2 separate regions of the Homo sapiens genome follow, and region 2 is linked to region 1. The links are contacts of gene promoters, found by promoter capture Hi-C in blood cells and fetal thymus (Javierre and others, 2016). All regions are on one chromosome and are shown on one strand. The core of a region is centred on a gene start or on the middle of the fragment in contact, and the rest is flanking DNA. Distances in the headings are between cores, read along the strand shown. Region 1 holds the start of KIF21B (kinesin family member 21B). Region 2 has its middle 3.7 kb from the start of TMEM9.

Region 1 (2,967 bases), core at 321-2,820:
TGGCCAGGTGGCCGTGGCAAGGGGCATCTGCCCTGGGGCAGGAAGAAGAAAGCTTTTTCATTGCCATCTCTGACTCTGTCTAGGAGCAACCTCCTAGGACCCCTGGAATCTGGGTCACATATGACCCAAGGGATCTAGAGACCTGAGAGACCTACCCTAGACCTGGACAATCCCCCGCCCCCTCCATCATACAGGGCTGGGGCAGAGATAGATGTTCTTGCCACATCCCTACCTTGGTGAGCAGCTCCAGATTGGCACTCTGCCGCCAAGACACCCCTCTCAAAGAGAAAAACCCAAAGCAAAAACTGGGAGAAGTGGTGAGGTGTGAAGCATCTCCACCCAGCACAAAGAACACAGATGGCTCAATTTCACAGCATTTCCTGCTCCTGCACCTTTGTGTACCCCTCCCAATAGAACCCACCCAGCCATGTCCTCTCCCTGTCTCATTTCTGCCGGCTCAAGTCCCGGAGCTGTTGAGAATGGAACCCCAGATAAGTCTAGGCAACCCTCCCCTGCTCAATTTTATCTGAGTGCCTGAGGATGGGGCATCTGCATCACACCCTCCTGCCCTCTCAGAGAGAAGCACCTCAGATACACCTCTTCCTCCCTTCCTAGGCCCATCTCCTCTTGGGACAGGACTGGTAGGATTCTCCCCCAAAGCCATTGACTTCCCACAGAAGGCCAAGGCATCATCCCAGCTTTTCCGTTGGTCCCCGCACCCGATCTTTGTCTGCAGATCTGGCTCCCAGGGTGGGTGTGCTGCCTTTGCTAGCTGGACCAAGAGCACATAACTAGCTGACTCGCATGGATGAGGGGAAATTTCCCTCTCTGGTATCCCCGTATGAGACAGCAGCCTCGTGGGGAGGCGAAGAGGAAACGCACAGACGCTCCGGCCTGGGCCAGAGCTGGGTGTGAAATACCGGATTTCCTTGTTTATTCGATTTTCTGATCATTAAGGGCTCCCAAGAGGGGCCCAAAATTACCACCCAAACAAAGCCACCTTCCAGTAGTCGGCGGGGTCGCCGCTCCCCTGCGGCAGACTGGCCAGCGCGCGGCGCCCTCCATCCCGTCCCACGCCGGCCCCTCCTCCGGGAGTGCAGGCTCCAGCCCAAGCGGTGCTCGCGCCCCCCGCCCAAAGCCCACGCGAGACAAAGCCCGAGGCTTCTCCGCGCGCCCCCTTCCCCGCCCCGGGTCCCTACCTGACGGCCACCTTGACGCAGCAGTCCCCCTGGCCGGCCATGGCCCTCTGGAGCTAGGGTCTGGGCGTGGATCAGAGGCGGGGGTCTGGGGGCCAATGCCCGAGGCAGCGGCTGCGGCTGCGGGAGGCGGGGGCGCGGGCGCGGCTGGCGGAGGCTGCGGCGGCGGCGGCTGGAGGTGACATGCTCGCGGGCGGCAGGCCGAGGGGCTCACCCGCGGCCGGCCCCCCGGGGCTGGGCCCGCGCGCCTCCTCGCGCCATCGGGCGGCGGCGCGGAGCTAGCTGACAGCCGGCGGCGCGACCCGCCGCTCCCTACGGCGCGGCACACGCGCACACACCTCCCACCCGGCAGCCACCTCCCGCCGCAGCGCGAACAAAGGGGGCGGGGGCCGATCCGGCCCCGAGCCCGCCCCGAGCCAGCCCCGAGCCCAGGCCGGGCCCCGCCCCGCCCAGGAGCCGCCAATCGAAAGCCCTAATGAGCAGTGGGGGCGGGACTCGCGCCTTTAAAGGGACCTCTTGGCTCGCGGCCACGGGGTGGCTGGGGGTAGGGGGCGGGATTGAAGGGTGGGGGTGGGGGTAGGGGTGGGAGTAGGGGTGGGGGCGCTGGACGCAGACCACGTTAGAACCTCGGCTCCTGGAGTAGCAGAACCTCGGCTTCAATGGGACCCTCATTTCATAAATGAAGAAACTGAGATTCAAAGAGGGGAACTACCGAAGGTTACAGAGCGAGTTCGTGGGTAAGCATGGTAAGAACCCTGGTCTCCCGGGGATCCCACAGCGATTGACGGTTTATAGTTCAAAAGAGCCAGGAAAGCTTCCCTTCTGCATTTATTCCAGTAAATTCGCCAACCCTTCTCGAAGGGAGTTCTTGCTAGCCCCTAACTAAAATTTCCCCCACCTCCACCCTGCAGCATCTTAAAGCTCATGTTTTAGTTGATTCCTGGCCAGGCTCCTAGCCCAAGACTAGCCCCTCCCTACTGCTAGACGACTGTCCCATTGACCTTTATGACCCACAGATGACCCCACTGGGCCTGGCTCACACTCTGCTTGTTGTGGCTGTGGGGCCAGAGGGTCAGTGTGGGAGGCCTGAGCTGCCCTGGGGGAAAGGAGGGAACAAAGGGGGCCCTCAGTTCCGAGCACCTGGGTAGAGAGGCTGGGCGGTGAAGTGGGTGGGGAAGGGAAGGAGGGCAGCTGCCTGCAGGAATGGGTATAAAGGACAAGGAGGACCATGGAGACTTTAACGCTGGGCCTGGATGGAGGAGGAGACCAGTGCTGCAAAGTCACAATTCCCTTCCCAGTCCATCTCCCTCCCTCTGAGCCCAGACGCCTCTTCCCTGCCCCCTGCCTCCCAACATTGGGGCCATTCACAGGGCCCCTCACCAGCTGCCCTCACTTCACCCAGCTCCCTCCCCTGGAAAGGGCCCAAGAGGAGGACCCAGCTGCAGCCCCAGATGTGGATGGGGATCTCTGGGGGAGGGGAGGAAGGGGAGTCTGACTCCAGGCCTCTTACATTACCCTCAGATGATGAAACCATGTCAGAGATTTTGGCAAGGGTGTGGACTGGGGTCTGAGGATGCATCTGTTGGTACCATCTTCCTCCCCTTCCCTCCTCCACTCACACCCCCCTCCCCGCCAATAACTGCTTCATGCAGTAGCTCAGATCCCTGTTTGGCTTGACCTATTAAGGTCAAATCAAAACCAAAGATAATTTCAAGGGCAAATTTCAAGGGCCAATCAACACATCCTTTTCATCCCCATGGCAAACAGGAGG
Region 2 (2,967 bases), core at 312-2,811, 130 kb after region 1:
TTTTCCCAAATAGTCCTACCTGACCCAGGGCACCTCATTCCCATACATCCTCCATGTGCCCTGTGTTTATGAGCCATGCCAGTGAAGTGAGTCTGAACCTATTCATTAAATTTAATTCCATAAACATGTGCCAAGCACTATCTGTGAGCCAAACTCCAGGGCTCACAGATGCTAGGTACCCCAGGGATACAACAGACAAATCACATGCAACTCTGCTTTCAAGTAATGCACAACCTAATAGCAGACCAATCACATGGTCAGAATGTAACATAGAAAGTGATGTGTTGTAGAAGTGAAGCAGCCTTGTTGTCTGTGGTGACACTTGAGGTTTGTTGTCTCCTGGCCATGAAGATCAAGGAGGTAGACACACAAAGAGTGAGGTTAAGAGTGGAAATTTAATAGGTGAAAGAAAGACAATAGCTCTCTGCTACAGAGAGGGGTCCTGGAAAAATGAGTTGCCAATTTAAGGTGAAATGCAGGGGGTTTTATAGATGAGCTAGTGGGGAGGCAGTATCTCATCTATACAGGGCATCTCAAAAAAAGTTAGCACCAGGTGTGCCATCTGCATAGGGCACAAATCTCTGGCAGCTCCCAGCCCAATCTTTATTATGCAGGTGGTTTCTCTGCCTGAGCTTCTCCATGTTGCCCAGTTCTTTCTTACTGTACATGTGCTAACAAAAAAGGGAAGGTGGAGTCCCATGGTGAACATGCCTGGCCCCCCGGTAGCCCTTTTCTATGAGTGCAGCTGCCAGCATTCCTCCGTGCAAGCTTCCAGCTTCCTTATATATGTTTGCAGCCCAATCTTTGAGGCTGCTCTGTGTTAGAAAAGAAATGATTTCTAGGGCTGCTTCTTATTAGAAGGGAAGTTCTGCCAAGGACTTTTTTGTCCTTGCTATCTGCCTAAATAATTTCTATCTCCCGTATCAGAAATGCTTTTTCCCTTCAAAAATTTTTTGAGCACTGTGCTAGGTGCTGGGGATATCTCAGTAAACAAGACAAACCCTGTCCCTGTTCCCACAGAACTTGAAGTTTATTGCAAGAAAACCACAAATCAACAAGCAATGACAATTCAGGGTGGTAAGAGCTGTGCTGGGGGAAGGCTGCAGAGGCACTTGGGAAACCTAGACCAAGGGCCAGGGGAGCCCAGAATGGTGGAGAGGGGGCTTTGAGGGCAGTGAGGGCTACTTGGGCTGGGCCAGAGTGGTGGGCAGAACAATGTCGCACCCCCAAATGTCCACATCCTAATCCCTGGAACTTGTGAATACTGTCTTACACAGTAAAAGGCACTTTGCAAATATAAATTAAGGCCCTTGGTTGGGGAGAGTGGCTTGGATTATTCAGGTGGGCCCAATCTAATTAGATGGCTCCTTAACAGAGGAACCTTTTCTGGCTGTGGTTAGAGAAGGAGATGGACATGGAAGTAGGGTCAGAGAGATGCTATGCTGCTGGCTTCAAAGATGCAGGCAGGGGGCCACCAGGCAAGGACTGTGGGTGCTGCAGAAGCTGGTCAAGGCCAGCCAATGCATTCTTCCCTAGAGCTTCTAGAAGGAATGCAGCCCTGTAGACACCCTGATTTTAGTTCAAGAGAACACCTCCGTCAGACTTATGGCCTACAGAGCTGTCAGATAATACATTCGTGTTGTTTGAAGCCACCAGGTTTATGGTAATTTGTGACAGCAGCCATGGGAAACAAATACTGCCAGGAAGGGTGGGCAAAATTTGAGGCACAATTCAAGAGCAGGGTGATGGTGAGGAGGGCATTCTGGTGGGGGGTGGGGGCGGGGGCAGGGGCAGTGTAGGGAGAGCAAAGAGATGGGACTGGGGAAGTTCAGGGAGAGACATGTAGAGAAAGAGTCAACAGTTCAGTTTGTCTTGATCCCAGGACAAGCGAATGGGAAAGGAAGGCAGGGAGCTCAGTGACATCAGAGTCAGAATGTGAGCCAGGAGGGAGCCGGGAGCCCCTGGCTCGGGGCTCAGTGAGAGGGTGGAGACCAGGTAACATCAGCAGTGCACTCTCCCCAGCAGAGGAGGCCTAAGGAAGCTCTGGAGCCTTCCACTGCTTCCTCTCAGGACTTAGCCTTCATCCTGCCTCCAAGTTTGGAGCTCTAGAACTCAGGCCAAAACCCATACCCTCTAGTTCATACCTGCTTTTATCCAACAACCCTAAAATCAGTTTGACTTTATGAGGCGAGGTCTTGGCATCCGTGCCACAGCTGTGGGTCTGGGTTCTTCCTCACTCCCTGTCCCTACCGTTGGTGCTCCTGGATAGGGGATGAGTGCTGTCATCACTCCCAAATGGTGTCTACTCTCCCTGGCATCAACTATATGCCCCTGCTTTTCCTCTAATCCCCACTGAAGCTTATCTGTCCAGTGTCTCATAACCTCAAGCTCCTATGAGATGATTGACTTCCTAATTTTTGCATTAGCAACCATGTCTTAGACACACTAAAAGATCATCCAACCTAAACAGAGAACAAAGCTCAAGTGATAGAATACAGATATGTGTTAACACTCTCAAAGGGGCAGTAATGTGGGGGTACAAAGGAGCGCTTGACCCACCTCTTATAGGACATTGCCCTCTAGCCACAGATGGCAGGTCAGGTGCCTGACGATGTCCTTAAAATAGTATGGGCACCATCCTCAGATACCTGAGTACCTCTTACCTCTCTGGCCACAGCAGGATTTCTCAGGCATCAGGGAAATGGGGGCACTGAGCTAAGGGCAGAGAGCGCCCTGCTGTGTAGTACCCTTTTCTAGCTGGGCAAGGCCCTGGACAAGCACGCTGTTTTTGGCTGGGGTCCCCACATTTGCCTTTTTATACACACACACACACACACACACACACACACACACACAGCTCTCTCAACACCACTTGACTAAAGCAACACTTAAGCAAATAGCAATTAAACCTTTTTTTTTTTTTTTTTTAAAGAGATGAGGGTTTTGCTGTGTTGCCCAAGCTGGTCT

The links. Contacts are between HindIII fragments. The CHiCAGO score rates a contact against its expected background, and 5 or more counts as called.
Region 2: a contact is called between a fragment that was not itself captured here and the fragment with the promoter of KIF21B in region 1, in 2 of 17 cell types (naive CD8 T cells and naive CD4 T cells). The highest score is 5.6, in naive CD8 T cells.

Annotation. Positions count from the first base shown.
Region 1 is chr1:201,022,144-201,025,110 of GRCh38, forward strand. It overlaps KIF21B (kinesin family member 21B), which reads right to left and starts at 1,571. Exons shown (of 35, transcript NM_001252102.2): 1 at 1,200-1,571. The coding sequence starts at 1,240. LOC101929305 (a long non-coding RNA gene) reads left to right here and starts at 1,806. Exons shown (of 4, transcript NR_188464.1): 1 at 1,806-1,942. RefSeq lists an enhancer at 1-373 and silencers at 978-1,027, 1,428-1,787, 2,139-2,296. The HindIII fragment of the contact is 1,958 bases long and covers 51-2,008 here.
Region 2 is chr1:201,156,666-201,159,632 of GRCh38, forward strand. It overlaps a transcript of TMEM9 not described here. Among named protein-coding and RNA genes, the nearest start is that of TMEM9, 3.7 kb to the left of the region's middle. The HindIII fragment of the contact is 1,590 bases long and covers 767-2,356 here.